Linked DNA regions of Homo sapiens: all the other regions are linked to region 2. The links are contacts of gene promoters, found by promoter capture Hi-C in blood cells and fetal thymus (Javierre and others, 2016). All regions are on one chromosome and are shown on one strand. Each heading gives the region's core, a stretch centred on a gene start or on the middle of the fragment in contact. The rest is flanking DNA. Distances are from core to core; before and after follow the strand shown. Region 1 overlaps CD84 (CD84 molecule). Region 2 holds the start of CD48 (CD48 molecule). Region 3 holds the start of ITLN2 (intelectin 2). Region 4 overlaps CD84 (CD84 molecule). Region 5 has its middle 61 kb from the start of VANGL2. Region 6 holds the start of LOC101928372 (a long non-coding RNA gene). Region 7 has its middle 41 kb from the start of SLAMF6.

What was found. The method cuts DNA at HindIII sites, captures the fragments that hold promoters and counts their contacts. A CHiCAGO score of 5 or more calls a contact.
Region 1: a fragment that was not itself captured here is called in contact with the fragment with the promoter of CD48 in region 2 in 5 of 17 cell types (fetal thymus, total CD8 T cells, naive CD8 T cells and 2 more); the score reaches 8.4 in fetal thymus.
Region 3: the fragment with the promoter of ITLN2 here is called in contact with the fragment with the promoter of CD48 in region 2 in 13 of 17 cell types (total B cells, naive B cells, M2 macrophages and 10 more); the score reaches 12.9 in total B cells.
Region 4: a fragment that was not itself captured here is called in contact with the fragment with the promoter of CD48 in region 2 in 2 of 17 cell types (naive CD8 T cells and non-activated CD4 T cells); the score reaches 5.6 in naive CD8 T cells.
Region 5: a contact is called between a fragment that was not itself captured here and the fragment with the promoter of CD48 in region 2, in 2 of 17 cell types (activated CD4 T cells and non-activated CD4 T cells). The highest score is 6.2, in activated CD4 T cells.
Region 6: a contact is called between a fragment that was not itself captured here and the fragment with the promoter of CD48 in region 2, in 7 of 17 cell types (naive B cells, erythroblasts, endothelial precursors and 4 more). The highest score is 8.7, in naive B cells.
Region 7: a fragment that was not itself captured here is called in contact with the fragment with the promoter of CD48 in region 2 in 3 of 17 cell types (naive CD8 T cells, total CD8 T cells and activated CD4 T cells); the score reaches 5.6 in naive CD8 T cells.

The regions. Positions count from the first base shown.
Region 1 is chr1:160,540,408-160,543,581 of GRCh38, reverse strand. CD84 (CD84 molecule) reads left to right here. Exons shown (of 7, transcript NM_003874.4): 7 at 1-2,484. The region is part of intron 1 of CD84-AS1 (CD84 antisense RNA 1); the gene reads right to left. Among named protein-coding and RNA genes, the nearest start is that of CD84-AS1, 4.9 kb to the right of the region's middle. RefSeq lists an enhancer at 3,089-3,174. The HindIII fragment of the contact is 3,114 bases long and covers 1-2,872 here.
Region 2 is chr1:160,710,263-160,713,253 of GRCh38, reverse strand. It overlaps CD48 (CD48 molecule), which reads left to right and starts at 1,432. Exons shown (of 4, transcript NM_001778.4): 1 at 1,432-1,572. The coding sequence starts at 1,491. RefSeq lists enhancers at 404-463, 1,004-1,183. The HindIII fragment of the contact is 2,140 bases long and covers 1-2,057 here.
Region 3 is chr1:160,953,341-160,956,435 of GRCh38, reverse strand. ITLN2 (intelectin 2) reads left to right here and starts at 1,627. Exons shown (of 8, transcript NM_080878.3): 1 at 1,627-1,709; 2 at 1,986-2,049. The coding sequence starts at 1,695. The HindIII fragment of the contact is 24,751 bases long and covers 1-3,095 here.
Region 4 is chr1:160,562,635-160,565,987 of GRCh38, reverse strand. It overlaps CD84 (CD84 molecule), which reads left to right. Exons shown (of 7, transcript NM_003874.4): 2 at 243-584. The region is part of intron 1 of CD84-AS1 (CD84 antisense RNA 1); the gene reads right to left. Among named protein-coding and RNA genes, the nearest start is that of CD84, 15 kb to the left of the region's middle. The HindIII fragment of the contact is 5,530 bases long and covers 1-3,353 here.
Region 5 is chr1:160,460,184-160,463,399 of GRCh38, reverse strand. No RefSeq gene overlaps it. Among named protein-coding and RNA genes, the nearest start is that of VANGL2, 61 kb to the right of the region's middle. The HindIII fragment of the contact is 3,940 bases long and covers 1-3,216 here.
Region 6 is chr1:160,929,793-160,932,507 of GRCh38, reverse strand. LOC124904441 (a long non-coding RNA gene) reads left to right here. Exons shown (of 2, transcript XR_007066689.1): 2 at 331-862. It overlaps LOC101928372 (a long non-coding RNA gene), which reads right to left and starts at 43. Exons shown (of 6, transcript NR_110695.1): 1 at 1-43. The HindIII fragment of the contact is 1,228 bases long and covers 672-1,899 here.
Region 7 is chr1:160,480,926-160,483,996 of GRCh38, reverse strand. No RefSeq gene overlaps it. Among named protein-coding and RNA genes, the nearest start is that of SLAMF6, 41 kb to the left of the region's middle. The HindIII fragment of the contact is 480 bases long and covers 1,156-1,635 here.

The DNA of each region.
Region 1 (3,174 bases), core at 66-2,565, 170 kb after region 2:
AAGATAGGGAGCCTGTAAGAATCATTGAGGGCTTATTTTGTATACCAACTGCTAAACTAGATGCTTCATACATTGTTGTCAATACTCATGACAGCCTTGTAAAGTAGAAATTAATTCTTCCAGTTAACACTAAGGCTGACATATGAATACCTTGGCAAATCTGGAAAGCTGGGAAGACAGTATTTGAATTCAAGACTTCTTGTCACCAAGGGCCATGCACTTGTACTCTGCCATGTGGCCCTTTTTTACCTCCTGTGGATTCTCCCTACCTGGTACTTGGCCTTAGGTGTACACACACCTGGCACTTTGCTTGACACATAATAGGTGGACCACAAATATCTACTAAATGAATATTTGCATATAGTAATATTTTAAGGTACTAAAAGCAGCTCAAAGTAAATATATTAATATATTAATTCCATTGCTATCTGGATAACCACTCAACTTTCCTGCTGAAAATGCCCATTTAATTAAAGAAGGTTGGATAGAGCTCTCTATATGCATTTTGGACAGGCAGGGGTTTCAGGTCATAAACATTCTGATGAGTTAATATAAAATAAGAGAAACTGTAAATTTCCACTACTAAAAATCACAAAAATAACAGAAACAAAAGAAGAGATAAGAATTTGGGGAATTGTGCTGAACAATTTAGTGGTTAAAAAAAACAACTGTGCATGTTTAGACTTAAATAAGCCCCCATCCAAGTGTGAGGGGTCCAGTAATTTTTCAAAACATATGAAAGTGTTAATACATTTCGACAAAGGACCATTAAAAAAGTCCTGAATTCTGACTTGAGGGAGGAAAGTAATGACTAATACATTCTCTAGAGACTTGCAGACTTTGGGAATTCATAAAGGAATGGATGATAATTATTAACTGTTGCTGGCTGATTGCCCAGACAGTTCTCAACAGCCCTGTACAAGTCTCTGGGTTTGGGATGGATCAATTCTGAGACTGGAAAATGGCCAAATCTTTGCAAATGAGAAATATTTTTCTTATAAGTTCTTATTGTAGGCAAATAATTACATAGATTATTCATCAGAGAATTTTTAAATGCTCATAATCTCAACTCTTTCATTTACAACTTGTATTTCCAATAGTTTATGGGTCATCTCTGCATAGATGTCAGAAGTCACCTCAAGTTTAGCGTGTCCAAAATCTAACTCACAGGTCTGTTTCTGACCTCCCAACTTGCTTTCCTTGTGTTTTTCCTATGCTAATGATCCACCATAATCAAAATAATTAACATTTATCCAGTGCCTACTATGTACTATTCCCTGTCCTGTTTTACATTTACTCATTTAAAGTCCATAAGAAACATTAAATCTCATCTGCCTTCTGAAGAAGATACAACCATGCTCTCTTTTACAAAGTAGGAAACTGGGTCACAGAAAGGTGAAGTCTTTAAGGCTGAATCACAGTAGCTCATCCTAGTAAATAGAAAAGCCAGGATTCAACTCCAGGGGCTGGGTGCAGAACTGCTATTCTTCACTGCTTCACCAATCAGCAGCTACCCAAGGCAGAAAACTTTTTCATCCTTGGCTCCTTCATTCTCCCTGTCACCCCAGATCCCCTCTACATCTAGTCAGAGAATAGGTCCTGTCAATTCCAACTTCTCTATATGGCTCCTCTCAGGCATGTGCCCTTAATTGGCCTAATTCTCTAATACACCTTCCCTCTACATGCTCACTCCCTCAGATCATTGCTTTATCACGTGTTACCTGGGTTGCTATTACATAAAGAGCAATCTTTCTAAAATGAGGATCTTATCACTTCACTTCCACACTAAAATGTTTTTCCTGGGGAACCACACTCCTTAGCAATCTGACCCATCAGACCTTCCAGGCTGTCTCCTGCCTGCTCCCTAAGGCTCCAGCCACACAGAATTATCATGGGCCCACACACCCACCAAATCCTCCCATGCCTTTGCCCATGTTGTCTGGGATGCCCTTCTCTCCCTTCTGTCTACATCAAGCATCAGACTGAATATCCCTCTTGTGCGGCCTTCTAAAACCTCCCGTCCAAAGCGAAATATATTGCCCTCTATTTATACTTTTACAGCATTTGGCACACAAGTACAGAGTAGTAGCTTTTTATCACATTCTCTGATAATTATATAGATATGGTATTTCTTAGCTCTCTCTCCAACTGGCTAATAAGTTGCTTTTTGTCTGAGTGCCTAATTTTGTGTTTTGTGTCTGAGTGCCTCAGTTCCTCAAAAAAAGGTTTTTTGATTAGTTCATTATTCATTTGAACATGGAAATTATGCTCACTAGTGGCAAATGCCACTAACCGTATTCCAGAAGCTAGGTGTCATGTTTGCAATAAGATATATTATCCCTTCTACAAGTCACCTTTTATTTCAGGCATTTGTAAATGCCCATTAATAAAGTATGGTTCATAAATTTTACCTTGTAAGTGCCTAAGAAATGAGACTACAAGCTCCATTTCAGCAGGACACAATAAATATTATTTTATAATGCATCTATTTTGTGTTTTACTTTGTTTTGGTTTTTGAGAGCAACAAAAATGAAGTAAACAGATGAAACAGCAAAGGAGACAGTCCACATGATAAAAGCCCTGTGCTGTCTGAAAACCCAGGCCCTGAGTGGACACAAGAGACCAAGGGATTGAGGGTATAAGACAGACAAAGAAAAAAAGAAAAGCTGATGTAGAGAGATGATTGGGACCTTGAGAGGAGACTGAGAAGCTAGAGACAGGAAGGACAAATGCCAGAAACAGAAAAAACCCGGAGGGCAGCAGAGGTGCTTGGTTAAGGTGGAGAAGAGAGTTCTGCCTTGGTCAACCTAGAGAGAGGAAATTGAGGACTTAAATCACGTTTTGGGGGTCATCTCCCTCCAGGGAAGAAGCTTTGTCTTATTCATTTTTCACTCACAGTGCCCTATCACAGGAGCCAATGCCTAGCAGAGCTTAGTAAGTATTTGTTGAACTGAATTTGGATTGGCACCCACATATCAGAAGAGGAAAGAGAGTCCTGGAAACCACATTCAGAGTCCGAGTCCCAAATTGGAGAGTAGAAATTCTCTGTGTCACCCATAGTGCCACTTGGAGGAAAGGGATAAAAAGACTGGGCTTTTAACTGAGGAGAATGAGGTTGTGGTTTCCACAGAACTGTAGGTGCAGGGCCTCTGAATGTTTGGTAAACACTGAAGG
Region 2 (2,991 bases), core at 183-2,682:
CTGAGAAGAGCAGACATTTTATTGTTCATCTCCATGTTGAGAATCAGAAATGTCCCCAATTAAAAAGTGATTACAAATATGTTATATCAGGAACTGTGGCTTGCCTGTGGGTCCTGGGTGGGCAAATAACTAATTTACATTCAATAGGAATGAGCTTGAAATTTCCTAGACATGATATGATTTGGCTGTGTTCCCTTCCAAATCTCATCTTGAATTGTAGTTCCCATAATCCCCACATATCATGGGAGCAACCCAGTAGGAAGTAAGTTAATCATACGAGCAGTTACCATCATGCTGTTCTCGTGATAGTGAGTTCTCACTAGATCTGATGGTTTCATAAGGAAGGGGCTTTCCCCATTGCTGCTCAGTGCTTCTCTTTCCTGCCACCGTGTGAAGAAGGACGTATTGGCTTCCCCTTGCACCATGATTGTAGGTTTCCTGAGGCTTCCCAAGCCATGCTGAACTAGAAGTCAATTTAACCACTTTCCTGGCCAGGCACAGGCCCATGCCTATAATCCCAGCACTTTGGGAGGCTGAGGCAGGTGGATCACTTGAGGTCAGGAGTTCAAGACCAGCCGGGCCAACATGGTGAAACCCTACTAAAAATACAAAAATTAGCTGGGCATGGTGGTGCTTGCCTGTAATCCCAGCTATGTAGGAGGCTGAGGCAGGAGAGTTGCTTGAACCTGTCAGGTGGAGGTTGCAGTGAGCTGAGATTGCACTGCTGCACTCCAGTCTGGGCTACAGAGTGAGACTGCATCTCAAAAAAAAAAAAAACCAAAACAAACAAAACAAAACAAAACCCCTCTCTTTCCTTTATAAATTACCCAGTCTGGGGTATGTCTTTATTAGCAGTGTGAGAACAGACTAATACAGACTACAAGGGTGGGAAATCCATTCTTTTGGGCCAAGTAATCTTACTTTTTTTCTGATGTTCAGTGGATAGGCTGATGTCAAACTTCAAATAGTGAATTATCATAAAGGAAGAAGAGCAGAGGGTGGTGCTGGGGGTAAGATATGCAGCACAAAGGCTACGTGGGTCTGATTTCCCAGACTTCAGGCTCTGAATGACACCTACCCAGGCTTGACTGGGAAGCTCCTATGTCTTAGCCCCTGAATTAATCAGAGGGATTCCTGCCTGGGAACGAAAAGCAGACATTCTCTATCAGGGTCCCTTATTCTTTTCTGAGTACTGGCCCCCCTGAGAGTACAGTAGAAGCTATGAATCTTCCCCCTACAAAAAAGCACTCATGTACCTTCAAACAAAATTGTTCTCAGTTTCCGTGATGCTCTTAGATAAAAAAATTTACAAGACCTCCGGTTTCTGGTTTCTGGGGCCCCACACAAGTGTGCTGGGTGGAGAGAAAATCTCAGTGGTTTTTTTTTTTTTCTCTCTAACCCTGTTTGGTAAGTTCCGTTTTTAGCCCCGGCCTTTTTCTAGCCAGGCTCTCAACTGTCTCCTGCGTTGCTGGGAAGTTCTGGAAGGAAGCATGTGCTCCAGAGGTTGGGATTCGTGTCTGGCTCTGGAATTGCTACTGCTGCCTCTGTCACTCCTGGTGACCAGCATTCAAGGTACTTTCCACCAACTGTGTATCTGTGATTGTGCACTGAAGGCATGGTCAGTTGGGAAAGGGGAGACGGGATGTAGTTCAACCCTAGAAGCCAGATCTGGTGTCTGGAAAGCAGGTATTTCCATTCCAATAGCATGGCCATGGCATGGTTGGGGAGCCTTTCTTAGCACTGATGAATGGAGCTTCATCTCCTTTCCCACGGGGATGTGATCAAAACAGGAACCTGGGGAGCAAGAGAAGTAGGCTCCTCATATTTTGTCCCGTGGTTGGTGGTCCATGAAGTTGTGGAAAAGTGTTTGTTTTTTCATTTTGAATAAGAAGAAGCTCTACACTGACAGCTGCTGCATTTTATGCTCAGACACACTGTACTCCCTTAGGCATTCTTTGAGACCTCTGTATATGTGAGGTGTTGCATCCTGAGCCAAGGTAAATGATATTGTCATTGACCCAAAGAAAAGATAGATCAAAATTATAGGAAGAAAAGCTTGGAAAGGATTGCTGTCTGGGGTCTCTGAATGAGGGTCTGAGAAGAGGCTGGAAGTGCTTCAGCATCAAAGGAACCTTAACACATCTGATTGCTAAGAGTTAAGGTCCATTCCTCTGCCACAGCCTGTTCGGTCCCCGGTGTGTGACCAAGGGCTGAGCTAACTTTCCTTCTCCTGTTAGAGCTGCCTCACCCTCTTTCTTCATCCAGTACCTCTCTTCTTATGCCAGCTGAGAAACAGCAGTGAAACCTTTGACTTTCTTGCTATTCCCCCAAGTAAATACTCAAGTCTTTTTAATTTAAAGGGCTTTAATGCTCACCACTCTGAGTAAAACAGTAAAAATCAACAAACATGTGGTAGTCACACTGTGGCATAAAATGATGATAGTTTGTAACTTTTGGGGAGATGAGGTAGAATGTGTGGAGGATCGGTCTCTCACATATTCTACCTCTCAGGTAGAGTCCTTTGGTTCATGACTGTGTGAGTCTACGGCTATATAGGTTCTGTGGGCCTGACTCAATGCATAGGACATTGGTATGACCTTGGGATTGGGGGCTGATGTGAAGTATTCATCTAACTATTGGGAAAAGCAGGGTTGCCAATGAGAATTGGAATATTTTAGGACTTTCTCTAGGCATACTGAAAACATCCTGACAGTTGACCTTTCTCTGACTTCTTTTCTAGGCTTCATCTTGGTCATTTATTCTTCTTTGAAACAATCAGACCACACCTGATTATGTTATCCTTTGAATGGATAATATTGGTTTTGATGAGGTTAGTAAACCTGGGTTATAACACCCGGGCTATAACCTGGGTTAGTAAAATACAAATTAAGCACTTACTGTGTGTCAGACATTGTGCTAGGCCTTTTGCATACTTTTTCATTTAACTTTCATTAGAAAATAGTGAGGTGGCTATTATTATCTACATTTTTC
Region 3 (3,095 bases), core at 378-2,877, 240 kb before region 2:
ACCTCGGCCTCCCAAAGTGCTGGGATTACAGGCGTGAGCCACCGCGCCCAGCCCAAAAAAAGAGTTTTTAATAATATGATGTTGATAATTGTACTGTGGTTATACATGACATATTCCTATTATTAGAAAACACACAGTTGGCCAGGCATGGTGGCTTACACCTATAATCCCAGCACTTGGGAGGCCGAGGCAGGTGGATCACGAGGTCACGAGTTCAAGACCAGCCTGGCCAAGATGGCAAAACCCCGTATCTACTAAAAATACAAAAATTAGCTGGGCGTGGTGGTGGGTGCCTGTAATCCCAGTTACTCGGGAGGCTGAGACAGGAGAATCACTTGAACCTGGGAGGCGGGGGTTGCAGTAAGCTGAGACCATGCCATTGCACTCCAACCTGGGTGACAGAGTGAGGCTCTGTGTCAAAAAACAAAACAAAATAAAAAAAACCCATACGCATTTATTTAAAGGTAAAAGCCCATGATGTATGTACCTTACCTTCAAATGGTTCAGAAAAAAATTTTGTGTGTGTGGGTGTATTTTATATACATATATCTATATATATATAGAGAGAGAGAGAGAGAACACGAAAGATAAAGCAAATGGGGTGAAATATTAACAATAGTTGAATCTAGGTAAAGGGCATATATGTGGCTTTATATTATTGTTATTTTTGCAACATTTAATAAATTTCAAATTGTTTCTAAACAGAGTTAATAAAACAATAAAATTACAGCAGGATACATGCAATAATTAGTGTTTGGACAGTGTATAGTGGGACAAAGGAAGGATCCATCAGCTTTGTCTGGTGATGGGGGTGTCAGGGAAGGCCTCATAGAGAAATTGGAGGAAAGATTGGAAGGATGATGTCTTCTTTTCCCATTTATTTATTATTATTATTATTATTATTATTTTGAGGTGAAGTCTTGCTCTGTTGCCCAGGCTGGAGTGCAGTGGAGCAGTCTTGGCTCACTGCAACCTCCACCTCCTGGGTTCAAGCAGTTCTCCTGTCTCAGCCTCCAGAGTAGCTGGGATTACGGGTGCACGCCACTGCACCCAGCTAAATTTTTGTATTTTTAGTAGAGACAGGGTTGCACCATGTTGGCTGGTCTTGAACTCCTGACCTCAGGTAATCCGCCCACCTCGGCCTCCCAAAGCGCTATGATTATAGGTGTGAGCCACTGTGCCTGGCCAATTATTATTCTTAATTAATTAATTTATTTTTCATGAGGTGTCACCTCAGTCTAAAAGGATGATTTCTTGACAGAGTTGTGTCTAGGGGGCCAGGGCATCTGGGGGAGGTGGGAGAGGGAGAACGCAGGGGAGGATTGTGACCTATCCACGAATCTGATTAGATACTGCTACATTGTATGGCCTGCCTTGGCAAAGCAGGATGCCCCTCCTCAGATGGCGACAGTCACCTGTGTGGCCAGGAACACAGCTCCCTGCTCCTCCAGCCAGTCGCACGTCCTTTCTCATTTCCACGGTCCCAGGCTCAGGTACCCTCAGAGGGAAGGGCTTCAGAGGGAGGGGCTAGCAGCCTAGGCTGCTCAGGGTTGGGCTGGGCAGGGCTCAGGTGGTTTGGCTCTCCACAGCTCTCCACATAAAGGGACCAGCACTTCACCCTTCATCAGGATCCTCTGCAGGGGAGCTCCGAGTGTCCACAGGAAGGGAACTATCAGCTCCTGGCATCTGTAAGGATGCTGTCCATGCTGGTGAGAAAAATGTTTTTGATCCATGTGTGTGGGAGCAATGATGCCAGCTCAGGTCTCAGTTTTAGAGATTTAGAGTTTCAGGGAAATGAGCCCATGGCCCCTTGGGTATTTGTAGTGTTGGACAGCCGTGGGGCATATTCCAGGAGGTTTTAGAATGCTCATGAGCCCATCACTTTCCATTTGAGGATTCCTGACTCAGAAAGGTTAGGAAGTAAGAACGAGAGGATGACAAAGGAAGGGCCAGCCAGTGACCTTGTGCATCTTGTTTTTCCTTAGAGGACAATGACCAGACTCTGCTTCCTGTTATTCTTCTCTGTGGCCACCAGTGGGTGCAGTGCAGGTAAATGGCTTCTGAGAGTAGGAGCTGCAGTTTCCTGGGCTCCCCTCTGCTGTGCAGGGCCTGGAGGGAGTAGAGCTGGGCAGGGCTCTGAAGTCAAGGGTCAAAGGGGAAGTTCTGGAGAGGCAGGGAACCCAGGCTAGGCAGCCAACTTGAGGTGTGGACTGGGTGCTGATTTCTGGCCTCTCCTGGGGTCTGGTCTGAAGCAGTCAGGGTGTTAGCTCAGGTATTTCCTAGGGCTTGATTCTCTGCTTCTGTGGCTGTGAGGGGTTCATGGGGTGAGAGAGTAAGAACTGTGTCCCTGCTCAGCTGCTCTTGTGGCCTTGGCCTTGGGATCTCCAGAGGCAGCTGGGTGATCAGTGCTGTGTCCAGGGTACACCCTCCTCTAGTCGCAGAGGAGGATATTGTGAGAATAGAATCCTCACAATTCTATTCTTCCAGTAGGCACAATAGTGATATTTTTTCATTGATACTGGGTTTATTGTTTATTTCAATCCATCAGTTAAAAAAAGCACATTTACATATGTCATCTCATTTGATCTCCATGCGTATAAAGAAGTTATTAATGACATCTTAAAGATGAAGAAAAAGGATCAGAGATGTTAAGTGTCTGCTCAAGGAGGCACTGTCATCAGGGTTTGTCTGGATTTTACCTTGAGTCCTGTAATTTTTTTTTTTTTAGACGGAGTCTTGCTCTGTTGCCCAGGTTGGAGTGCGGTGGCGTGATGTCGGCTCACTGCAACCTCCGTCTCCTGGGTTAAAGAGCTTCTCCTGCCTCAGCCTCCCCAGTAGCTGGGATTACAGGTGTGCACCACCACACCCCAGCTAATTTTTGTATTTTTAGTAGAGATGGGGTTTCACCATATTGACCAGGCTGTTCTTGAACTCCTGATCTTGTGATCCACCCTCCTCGGCCTCCGAAAGTGCTGGGATTACCGGCATGAGCCACTGTGCCTGGCCTGAGTCCTGTAATTTTACACTTTTTCCCGCTCTGCCAGGCTTTTGGAATGATTTCTAGGCTTTTAGACTTATATACATGGCCCTTCATC
Region 4 (3,353 bases), core at 669-3,168, 150 kb after region 2:
TTTAACAAAATGGATCTCTAGTGAGAAACTTAGTTTTTGAATGAGAATGCGTTAGAAAATTTAGTTGTCATAACATATTAAATACACCTAGAGTAGAATGCCAAAAAAAAAAAAAGGCATCCTCAAGAAACTGGGTGAACTGCATTTGTGGCAGCTCCTCAGGGAGCTCCAAGGCCAAAAAGATTAGGAAGTGAAAAAGCTGCAACAGTCAGATGGCTACAGTTTTCTTTTTATGTTCTCAGGGCCGGAAGCAGCTGGAAAAGACTCAGAAATCTTCACAGTGAATGGGATTCTGGGAGAGTCAGTCACTTTCCCTGTAAATATCCAAGAACCACGGCAAGTTAAAATCATTGCTTGGACTTCTAAAACATCTGTTGCTTATGTAACACCAGGAGACTCAGAAACAGCACCCGTAGTTACTGTGACCCACAGAAATTATTATGAACGGATACATGCCTTAGGTCCGAACTACAATCTGGTCATTAGCGATCTGAGGATGGAAGACGCAGGAGACTACAAAGCAGACATAAATACACAGGCTGATCCCTACACCACCACCAAGCGCTACAACCTGCAAATCTATCGTAAGTCATGGGAAGACGGAGAGCTTGTGTTTTATTTTTACTTTGCAAGTTTGCTATCTGAAACACATCTACATTTCTGATAATTGGGTCCCCTAAATCTTTTTATATCTATAAATACTTACATATTGATACATCAATACTTATAAGAGGATGTAGTCTTATTTCAGTCCTGACTTTGCCTGTTTTTAGCTATGTAATTCTTCCATCAGTAGTTGGTCCCCTGGGCCTTGGTTTTCTTTTTTACATAATGTCAATGATCATACTACTCACTTCCCAGGGTTATCATGAGGATCAAATGAGATAGTGTATGCAAAGTGCTTTAAAAAAACTTTTCATTTTGAGATCATGATAGATGCAAAGAAGGTACAAATAAATATACAGGGAGGTTCTATGTACCCTTCACCCTGTGTTAACACCTTGCATAACTATAGCACAATATCAAAAACAGGAAATTGACATTAGCACAATCTATAGAGCTTATTTAGGTTTCACCACGTATGCATGCATTCATTTATGTGTGAGTATGTGTGTAGCTCTGTACAATTTAATCACATGGGTAGTTTTGTGTAACCACTACCATAATCAAGATTAACCATCACAAGATTCCCTCATACTCTCCCTTTATAGCCACATCTCCATCTTTCCCTTCCCCAGTCCCTGAAAAACAACCAGTTTGTTCACATCTACAACTATGTCATTTCACACATGTTATGTAGATGGAATAATGAAGGACGTATCTTTTTGAGGTTGGGTATTTTTCACTTAGCGTAATGTCACTGAGATTCATCCAAACTCTTGTGTGTACTAATAGTTTATACCTTTTTATTGCTAGATAGTATTCCACGGTATGGATGCACTAGGTTGTTTAACCATTCACCTCTTGAGGAACATTTTAGTTCTTTCCAGTTTGGGGCTATTACAAATAAAGCTGCTGTGAATATATGTGTACACATTTCTGCATGAAATAAGTTTTTATTTCTCTGGGATAAATGCTCAAGAATGTAATTTTATGATAAGGGCATTTACAGCTTTAAAAGAAACTGATAAACTATTTTCAACTTTCCATTCTCACCAGGAATGTATGAGTGATCCAGTTTCTCTACATCCTCACTAGCATTTGGTGTTATTATTTTTCATTTTGGCCATTCTGATGGGTGTGCAGTGATAACTCAATTTAGTTTTAATTTGAATTTCTAGTAGTTAATGCAAAGTGCTTTTGAAAGGTAAAATATTATAACTATTTGTTATCATCATTATAATTGCCACAATTCACTGGGAGATGTGCGTGCTTTGTTTTGCAAGCTACCCCAAGTGTGGTCTGTAGACTGGCAGTATCAGCATCAACTGGGAGCTTTTTGGAAATGCGAATGTTCAGGTCCTCCCCCTGACCTTTGTGAATGAATGAAGTCCAGGAATCTGTGTTTAATGTTATCTCTGGATTATTCCCACCTGTGCCAAAGTTTGAGAAAGTACGGACCTAGTGCTGCCCTATTCACTATGGTAGCCTCTAGACACATGCAGCTCTTGAGCATCTGAAATGTGGTGAGTCCAAATTGAGATGTGCTGTAAGTGTAAAATTCATACCAGATCTTGAAATCTTAGCACCAAAAAAATATATAAAATATCTCAATAATTTTCTTTTTTTTCTTCAATGTTTATTTTAAGTTCAGGGGTACATGTGCAGGATGTCAAAGTTTGTTACATAGGTAAATGTGTGCCATGGTGGTTTGCTGCACAGATCATTCCATCATCTAGGTATTAAGACCAACATCCATTAGCTAACCTTCCTGATCCTCTCTCTCCCCCAACCCCTCTCCAACAGGTCCCAGTGTGTGTTGTTCCCCTCCATGTGTTCTCATCATTCATCTCCCACTTATAAGTGAGAACATGTGGTGTTCGGTTTTCTGTTCCTGCATTAGTTTGCTGAGGGTAATGGCTTCCAACTCCATCCATGTCCCTGAAAAGGACATGATCTTGTTCCTTTTTATGGCTGCATAGTATTCCATGGCATATATGTACCACATTTTCTTTATCCAATCTATCATTGATGGGCATTTGGGTTGATTCCATATCTTAGCTATTGTGAATAGTGCTGCAATGAACATACATGTGCAAGTATCTTTATAATAGAATGATTTATATTCTTTGGGGTATACACCCAATAATGGGTTTGCTGGAACAAATGGTATTTCTGCCTCTAGGTTTCTGAGGAATGGCCACACTGTCTTCCACAATGGTTGGAATTAACTAATTTACACTCCCACCAACATTGTAAAAGCATTTCTTTTTCCCTGCAATCTTGCCAGCATCTGTTGTTTCTTGACTTTATTAATAATTGCCATTCTGACGGGCAGGAGATGGTATCTCATTGTGGTTTTGATTTGCATTTTTCTAATGATCAGTGATGTTTAGCTTTTTTTCACATGTTTGTTGGCTGCATGAATGTCTTCTTTTGAGAAGTGTCTGTTCATGGTTTTTGCCCAGTTTTTAATGGGGCTGTGTGTGGTTTTTTTTCTGTTTGTTTTTTCCTTAAACGTTTGTTTAAGTTCCTTGTGGACTCTGGATATTAGACCTTTGTCAGATGGATAGACTGGAAAAATTTTCTCCCATTCTGTAGGTTGTTTGTTCACTCTGATGATAGTTTCTTTTGCTGTGCAGAAGCTCTTTAGTTTAATCAGATCCCATTTGTCAATTTTTGCTTTTGTTGCAATTGCTTTTGACATTTTCATCATGAAATCTGTGCCCGTGCCTATGTCCTGAATGGTATTG
Region 5 (3,216 bases), core at 649-3,148, 250 kb after region 2:
AAAATTAGATAGCAAATCTGCATGTATCCAGCATCCTTAAGGAACAAAATGATTTACATTAATGCATTTTTTAAGATAGCTAAAGTTTACTTCTCCAAGTAACATCTTTTTGTTGTAAACAGTTTTTATGAAAATCTGCCTAGACTGTTTTATTAACATCTCCCTTCTTAAATAGATGACAATAACTTATTTCACCATTTCTTGATGAATTGTGTTTGTATCTTATTAGGTTTTCCCTATCAGGACAACAGTAGTTACTTCTTTTGTCATAGAGTCTGTCTCTTATAATGCCAGTACTTTGTAACCAGCTGTTTCCTTTTTTCTGTGGTGTGAGAATACAATAACCTGGATTCTATATGAATAAGAGTTGGTAGGCTCTGAAAGACCACCCAAGGACTTCTCCTACAGAGCTTTAGGACAAAGGAATGGTGGTGGCCACCTTAGCAGATACGCTCTTATTTACTTACTGTTTCTCCTGGCCAGGGAATCTGAATGTCTACAATTTCTGGAAGTCCGGGGCAATTTCTGTAATAATTTTACAGGCACAACTTTTGGGCTCAGTTTTTGTACATATTGCCATACCAGCCCTGTTGCCAAGGGAGGAATGGGGATGGAAAAGTGACTAGAACCACTCTTCATTTGTCCAATATCCAAATGAAATAATCAAACCTTATCTCTTTGGGTCACTCTTAGTCATTTAAACCATTTTTAATATTAAATATTTAAACAAAATGTTTCTAGGTCTTCTAGCCTTCTGAGGTCACCCTTTCCTTCAACATTTAAATAAAATACCTCCCGCACCTTCCCACACCCAGTTGGAGACCTCCATCTGTGAGGATTGCTGGATGGGTGGGAAGGGAGCAGTGCTTATATTCTGCTGGTAGCCTCTCATCCATGTTGCTGCTCCCATATAATTTCCAGTCCCTGTTATCACCTCACTTTCTAGAACCATGTTTCTCTCCATGCTGCTTCATCAGAAGCATGGACCCAGCCATCAAAAGAACACCAACACAAGCCTGACGATTTGAGGATAAGGGCAGGAGACTACAGCAGAGGACAGACTAGGAAACAGATTAAAATTGAGTTATTGGCTGGGCGTGGTGGCTCACGCCTGTAATCCCAGCACATTGGGACGCCAAGGCAGGTGGATCTCCTGAGGTCAGGAGTTCAAGACCAGCCTGGCCAACATGGTGAGACCCCCATCTCTACTAAAAATACAAAAATTAGCTAGGCATTGTAGCACGTGCCTGTAATCCCAGCTACTCGGGAGGCTGAGGCAGGAGAATCACTTGAATCCAGGAGGTGGAGGCTGCAGAGATCCGAGATAGCGCCATTGCACTCCAGCCTGGGTAACAGAGTGAGATTCCATCTCAAAAATAAACAAACAAATAAATAAATAAAAGTTATTTAAATCACTGTCCTCAAATTCCTTTGGTCATCCCTGCACAGGAACTTTCTCTTTGGGTACTATTTTCCTTAGGCCCCAGCATGTACCCTTCCCGGGAGCCTACTGGGTCTCACTCTCCTTTTCTCCAGGTTCCAGACCCCCAAATCTAGTCACATGAGTCAATAGCTAAAATTTCAGGATTTCTGCAAGTTAGCTGTTAAGCATCCCGTCAGTAACTAAATGCTGATATTTAAATAAATTATATATTTTTAAAAGGGTAGTAAGTACTCAAATGCATCACTTCTTAATTATTTTACTATCCTTTACTATTCTATGCTCTTGAGAGGATTTACATCTACTGCACACACATAGAGGAAACACTATATAATGGTGCACATCTTTTCCTAACTCAGTGACTTGATGGAAATGCTACCACAGAAATGGACAAGTGCTACAAATCAGAGTTTTAGAGTACTTTGTATTGTTTGGTTGTTGTTGTTATTGGAGAGGTGATTGTTAAACGTTTACCAGCACAAAACTCCCCCACTCTTCCAGGAAAAAACTGAAACACACCTGTCACTCCAGACTCCAGTACACAGACCAATTTAAACTATTTTTACTCACAGTATATCTCTTTTCAGAACATGCTATGGGGCCTAGATCTGAACAAAGTGGCCCGTTAAGGAGTTTGTCTAAACCCAATAGCCTTCTACTTCTCAGATGAGTTTTACCAACATCCCTAAAATTTGAAACAGCTGCCATGGTTTTTTTCAAATAATCCATTTACTAATCTTTGCGTTTTCCTCTGTTTTCTTCAAAAGCATATATTGAACACAATATTCAGTGTTAAGATGCCTCATGAGAAGCTGGGGTGAAAGAAGAGGGTAGAGAAGTGTGTTGCAACTTTGGAAAAACTGAGTCTCCCTCAAAGAAGGGGGTTAGGAGGGTTAGAGTTAGAGTTGTTGTTGAAGAAAAACTCCCAAAAACAAAGCTAGTGGAAACTCTTTCTCTCTGAGGGGGATAATAAAAGTGAGGGGAGCACCCCTTCCATTGTTCATGAGTCATTTCCTGTTTTAATTCTTCCTGTTTGTCCTTGGTTTTTCCACAGTAAATGTCGACTCCACCTTTCACTCTTACCTCCCCTCCTGGGTCATGATGATCACGGCCCAGTATTGCGTGAACATGTTGGTGGCCTGAAAGCACTCTGAGGATGAAAACTGTTAGGGAGCCAGAAATGACTTCTAAATCTGCAAACTGGTCTGAACTGTTTCTTCCTTCTTTGATTTTATTTCTCTTTCCTTCTTTTTTCCTTCCTTCCTCATGATCTTCCCCCACGCCTCCCTTTCTATCCTTTCTTTCCTTCTTTTGAGTGTTGCTTTCAGTGCTTTAAATGTTTCTCCATTGGGAATTGCTACTACAAGGACAGGAAGTAAGGTTTTGAGCACAAGATTTTGACATTGGTCCACCAGCAGCATGAGAAAGAGACAAATAAGAGAAAGGAGCAAAACGGTGTTCCTTTGAAAGCGGAACCCTAAAAATGAAACTTCTTAGCCTTGTTTACCCTTATCCAAATAACTTCTGAGTAACTACCTCTGAGAATAATAATAGCTATCCTTGGTGTGGCTGCTTTCTTCTGAAGTGTTCAAATAACTAAAAAGAGCAGGAACTTTGTCGTGGGGCGCTCTGAGAGTAACGCTGGCCACTCCTTGCTGGCTGGCTGGCTGGCCCTGTGTGCTTTGCACCCCCTCTTCCAGCAGTCTCCCTGGCACAGTTTGACAGTCAGTAGCCAGCATCATTGTGATTGGCCAGCAACTGCGCTGGACCAGTTG
Region 6 (2,715 bases), core at 36-2,535, 220 kb before region 2:
GTGGAGGCTTTTCTTGCTTTGTGCCCCACTTAAAATTGGCCTAGATGAAAGCAGCAGGCTCACATGTTATATGTGTTGCTTTCAAAATCCAGAGACCAACCCTGACCCAGTATTGTTTTTCACCTTGGAAAGATCATTCTGACATAGAAAATTCACTGATATGGCATATTCTGCATATAGCCTGCCAATTCTTTGGTAATTCCCCCCACCCCACCAAATTTGGGCGGGCTTAGTGACTAAGTTTTCATGAAAAGAATATGGCAGAAGTGTGACCTCTGAGACTGCATCCTAAAAAATGATACAGCTTCTTCCTGGCTTTCTCTTTCTTAGGACTTGTGCCTTCGGATCCTGATTTATTAAGTGAGAAGTCCACTATCCTGAAGCTGCTATGCTGGAGAGACCATGTGAAAAGATCATATAGAAGTAGAAAGATGCCCAAGAAGCCATATATGCTTCTTTCTGTAGCTGTTTCAGTCTGCCCACCCAGGGATCGGACATGTTAGAGAAAGAGTCTTAAAGATTATCCCAACCCCAGCCACCATGTGACTGCAACCTCATGAAAACCCCACACCAGAACAGTGGTATCAGCTCAAACTTTGCAAGGGCTAGGAGACTGAGGGCAGCTGACCAGATTTATGTGATTGAGCCTAATAAACTGGCCTGAGTAAGCTTCCCTGGTTGACAATATTCTGCGAGTATTATCACACACTGGATGTCAGGAAATTAACACTGTCCACAACTCATGGAAAGGACAACTGGGAGTTCTGTGTTTAGAGCTTTCCTGAACTCTGCCCTATGTACCCCTTCCCTTGGCTGATTTTAACCTGTATTCTTAGCTGCAATAAACCGTAACTTTCCATGAGCACTGTGAGTTTGTCTTGTGAATTATTAAACTCACGGGTGGTCTTGGGGTCCCCCCAAGCTGACAATTAATGTCAGAGAGGAGGAGGATATTGGGGGACCCCAACCTTGCAATCGGTGTCAGAAGTGAGGGTGGTCTTGTGGGCTGCTCCTCTAACAATGTATCCAGCATAACCTTGATATGAAAATCTCACAAGAGTATCACAAGAAAAGATAATTATAAGCCAACCACCCTCATGACTGTATATGCAACAATTCTAAACAGGATATTAACAAACCTACATATGAATTTGAGAGGACATAAATGTTCAGATCATAGCATTGCTGAGCATTCTGTATGAATATAGACATAATTCAAGACCAAGACTGATGATTGCTATTGTGAGTTGAACTGTGTTCCCTAAAGTGGTATGTTAAAGTCCTAATCCAAGGTACCTGTGAATGTGACCTTATTTGGAAATGAGATTTTTGCAGATGCAACTATTTAAAATGCAGTTATAGTGGATTAGGGTGGGCCCTAATTCCAATATAACTAATATCCTTATAAGAAGAGAAGAGACACAGATGCAGAAACACACACAGATGGAAGGCAGCTGTATGAAGACGGAGGCAGAGAAGGGAGTTATGTGGCCACAAATCAATAAATACCAAGGATTGGCCAGGCATGGTGCCTCATACCTGTAATCCCAGTACTTTGGGAGGCTGAGGTGGGATGATTGCTTGAGCCCAGGAGTTTGAGACCAGCCTGGGCAAAAAATACAGTGAAACTCCATTTCTATCAAAACCAAAAGCAAACAAACAAAAAACCCAAGGATTGCTTTCTACCTGAAGCTGGATGAGGCAAGAGAAGATCCTCCTGCAGAGTCTTTGGACAGAGCACAGTCCTGCTGATGCCTTAATTTTGGACTTCTCACCTCTGAAATAGAGTAATTTCTTAAAAAGCCACCTAGGTTGTGACAATTTGTTATGGCAACCCTAGGAAACTGACACAATTGTGTCATTGTTTTTTTCTCTCTACTAGTTTTAAAATTGTAAGCTTTTTTTCTATCCTTTTAGTGGCTGCTCTAGAACTAACAGCAGGCTTCATGAATGTTTTCTAATCACAAATTTGTGTGTTTATTTCTTTTAAAAGCATTAATTGCGAGCCTATTATGTGCCAGAACATATTCTAGATGCTGGGGATATAGCAACAAGTCAGGTACACATTTCTGCCTTTCTGGAGATTGTACCCTAGTACCAGGAAATATACAATATGCTATAAAAATAAATAATAGAATGTCAAGTTTTTATTTATTTATTTATTTTTATTTTTTTAAACCAGGTCTCCTTATGTTGCCCAGCTGTTCTTGAACTCCTGGGCTCAAATGATCCCCCCGCTTCAGCCTCCCAAAGTGCTGGGATTACAGGCATGAGCCACCACACCCAGACTAGAATGTTAAGTTTGAAAAGTGCTATGGAGAAAAAGAAAGTTGAGTAGCGACATAGATATATTGGGGGTGGTGGTGGTTTACAACTTTAATAGATCTTTAAAGAAGACTTCAGTGAGAAGGTGACATTGAGGAAGGATCTGAAGAAGGTGAGGGATTGAGCCATAAAGTACCAGGCAGAGGGAATAGCAACTGCCAAGGTATTGAGATGGGAGTATCTTCACTGCGTTCAGGGAGCTGCAGGGAGATTTGGCTAGCAGAAGCTGCATAAGTATGGAGGAAAGCAGCAGGTCATGACAGCACAAAGGTAAGATGGGAGCAGATTGTGTAGGATATTGTGGGCCTTCTGGGCAAGACTAGAAGCCTTCAGAGAGGTCTGAGTAGGAGGGTAGCCTGATTTAACAGGATGACTTTGGCTGTGTTGAGG
Region 7 (3,071 bases), core at 146-2,645, 230 kb after region 2:
GGGAGGATCACAAACAAAACAAAAACTAAGGGCGTATCTATAGACATCTAAGAGGTGAGTAAGAAAAGAACTCATAAGAAAGCTAAGCTCACTTGTCTTTATAGACCAGCTACTAAAACATAGAATTCCTGATGTTATATTTCTTTCAATCTCTTCAACCTTCTCCCTTTTTATCATAAATACCACACTCTCTTCTCTTGGCTTCTGTGACACTACATTCCCCGAGTTTTACTCCTTCCTTCCTAGCTGCTTCTCAGGCTCTTTGCAGATCCACTGCCTCCTCCACAGGACCAGTAAAGACTGAAGCTAAGGCTCACATGTGGGTCCCATTCACTTCTCCATCTAAGTACTCTTCTTATCTGATGTCAGCCATTCCTATTGCCTTAATAGCCTTTATAAGCTAATGGTTCCCAAACACATCTTTAGTCCTGACCTCCTGGCTTACCTCATTAACTGCCTACTTGGCATCACCATTTGCATATCTGGTAGATATATCAAAGTTTTTTAAAAAATAAAAACTCTTGGGCAGATGTGGTGGCTCATGCCTGTAATCCCAGCACTTTGGGAGGCCGAGGCAGGTGGCTCACTTGAAGTCAGGAGTTCGAGACCAGTCTGGCCAACATGGTGAAACCCGGTCTCTACTAAAAATACAAAAATTAGCCGGGTGTGATGTTGGGTGCCTGTAATCCCAGGTACTCAGGAGGCTGAGGCAGGAGAATCACTTGAAACCAGGAGGCGGAGGTTGCAGTGAGCCAAGATCATGCCACTGCACTCCAGCCTGGGCAACAGAGTGAGACTCTGTCAAAAAAAAAAAATCAAACCTCTTGATTTCTCTTATCAAGCCTTTTCTTCTACTATGCTTTTTCATATCAGTAAATGGTATCATTGTTATGGGACACTCTTGAACAGATCTCCTTTACAAAACTGAAAACTACCCAGTACTCACCATATAACTAATCATTTTTGTTTTCTTGTGGGAAACAAATGGATTTAATCAACAAAAACCTAATCTATTGTTCTAAAGTTAAATACATTAAGACCCAGATGCCCCATTCCTAAAAGATGAATCATGCATTTTGCAAGCAGGGAAGAAAACATGCAATGCTTATAAAATTCCTACCAAAAAACAAACTTTCTTTGCCCAGGAGGTAAGCTTGTTCTTTAATATTTTTATTGTAGAATTAAGGAAATGGTAGCCCCATTAAACTACTTTGAATAAGGTAAGATGGCTGTGATTGGCTATCCTGGAAAGGTAATAAAAGGGAATAGAAATACTCTTCCCACTCTGCCAGCCCCCAGTCATTCCCACTAGGAGGTCACAAAGTGTTGACAAGGCCTACAAGACCCCTACTCACATCTCTACTCCTTCTTTCACAGCATTCCAGCCACACTGTTCTTTATTCAGCTCCTAGAATAATCTAGACTCTCCTTCCTACTTCTGTGCCTTATGGATACTGGGACCACATCCCTATGAGGCAACAATTAGCTGGTGCTGAGTAGCCTCTGTTCTATTCTAAATGGGGCTTGCACTTCACATTTCACTCCTGGCCTGCCCTGCCTGCTTCACTCACTTAAGATACCTACCTAGTACTGAAAATAGTTAAGTTTCCAACCTCTTACCTACACCATGAAGCTTTGCCCCACATCATGTTGGTCAAAAGAGCACATTAACTAGTCCCAAAATAACAATGTCTGATCTCACTTGTCCACACCCCATCCCACCCTCAAGCCAACACCTGAACCCCGTGTAGCTTTAGGACACTTACTTGAAGCTTTCATCATTTAGCCTCCCTCAGGGTTCAGTGTATACTTTGATATGAGGAAGCAGGGCCACAGCTAGATGCAGAACAGAGAGAAGGCTACCCTGTCCAAGGTCACTGGATAGACATTTCACCCTGAGTTTCAAGTTGATGAAAAGAATGGACTAAGAAGTGACTTCTCAAATGGGGAGGGAGCAAGTCTGACCCCCTGAATTTCCCCTTCCCAGAGGCCATCTAAAAGCACTCTCTGTGGGAAGAAAGGAAGGGGACATCATCACTGACCTTTTACTACCAGACGACTAGAATGGCCACATCCAAAGCTTTTGCTTCCTCACCCCTAGCCCACTCTTCTGAAGCTGCATTCTTGAAGGATACCAACCTCTAGAGGCAGGGATCTTTTCTCTGCATTCTGGTGCTCTCTGCAGCATTTGACATTACACAATCCCCCCATCACCCTTGAGGTTTCCCTCCTTTTAATGCCCATTAAGTCACCTCATCCTACTTTTGTCTTTCTGTCTCCTCCTTACCTCTCCTTAGCTTGGTTTCTCTTATTATTTATGTCCCATAATTAGATTTGTTTCCCTAGGTTCTGCTGACTGGATATTTTCCTGGATGTCTCGTAATCACCTTAAATTCTGTTTTTCATTCTCCCTTTGACTTCTAATGACCCAAGGAAAGTAGAACATCCCTCTCAGGATCCAACAACAATCCAAAACACAAGGTGAATTCATGGCAACTTAAAACACAAGGTGAATTCATGGCAATTTAAGACACAGGAGGAAATAGAGGGGCAGCCAAGATGGCCGAATAGGAACAGCTCCAGTCTACAGCTCACAGCGTGAGCAATGCAGAAGACAGGTGATTTCTGCATTTCCAACTGAGGTACCGGGTTCATCTCACTGGGTAGTGCTGGACAGTGGGTGCAGGACAGTGGGTGCAGCGCACCGTGCATGAGCCAAAGCAGGGCGAGGCATGGCCTCACCCAGGAAGTACAAGGGGTCAGGGAATTCCCTTTCCTAGTCAAAGAAAGGGGTGACAGACGGCACCTGGAAAATCGGGTCACTCCCACCCTAATACTGCACTTTTCCAACGGGCTTAACAAACCGCACACCAGGAGATTATATCCCACACATGGTTTGGACGGTCCTACGCCCACAGAGCCTCACTCATTGCTATCACAGCAGTCTGAGATCAAACTGCAAGGTGGCAGTAAGGCTGGGGGAGGTGTGCCCACCATTGCCGAGGCTTGAGTAAGTAAACAAAGCAGCCAGGAAGCTCGAACTGGGTGGAGCCCACCACAGCTCAAAAAGG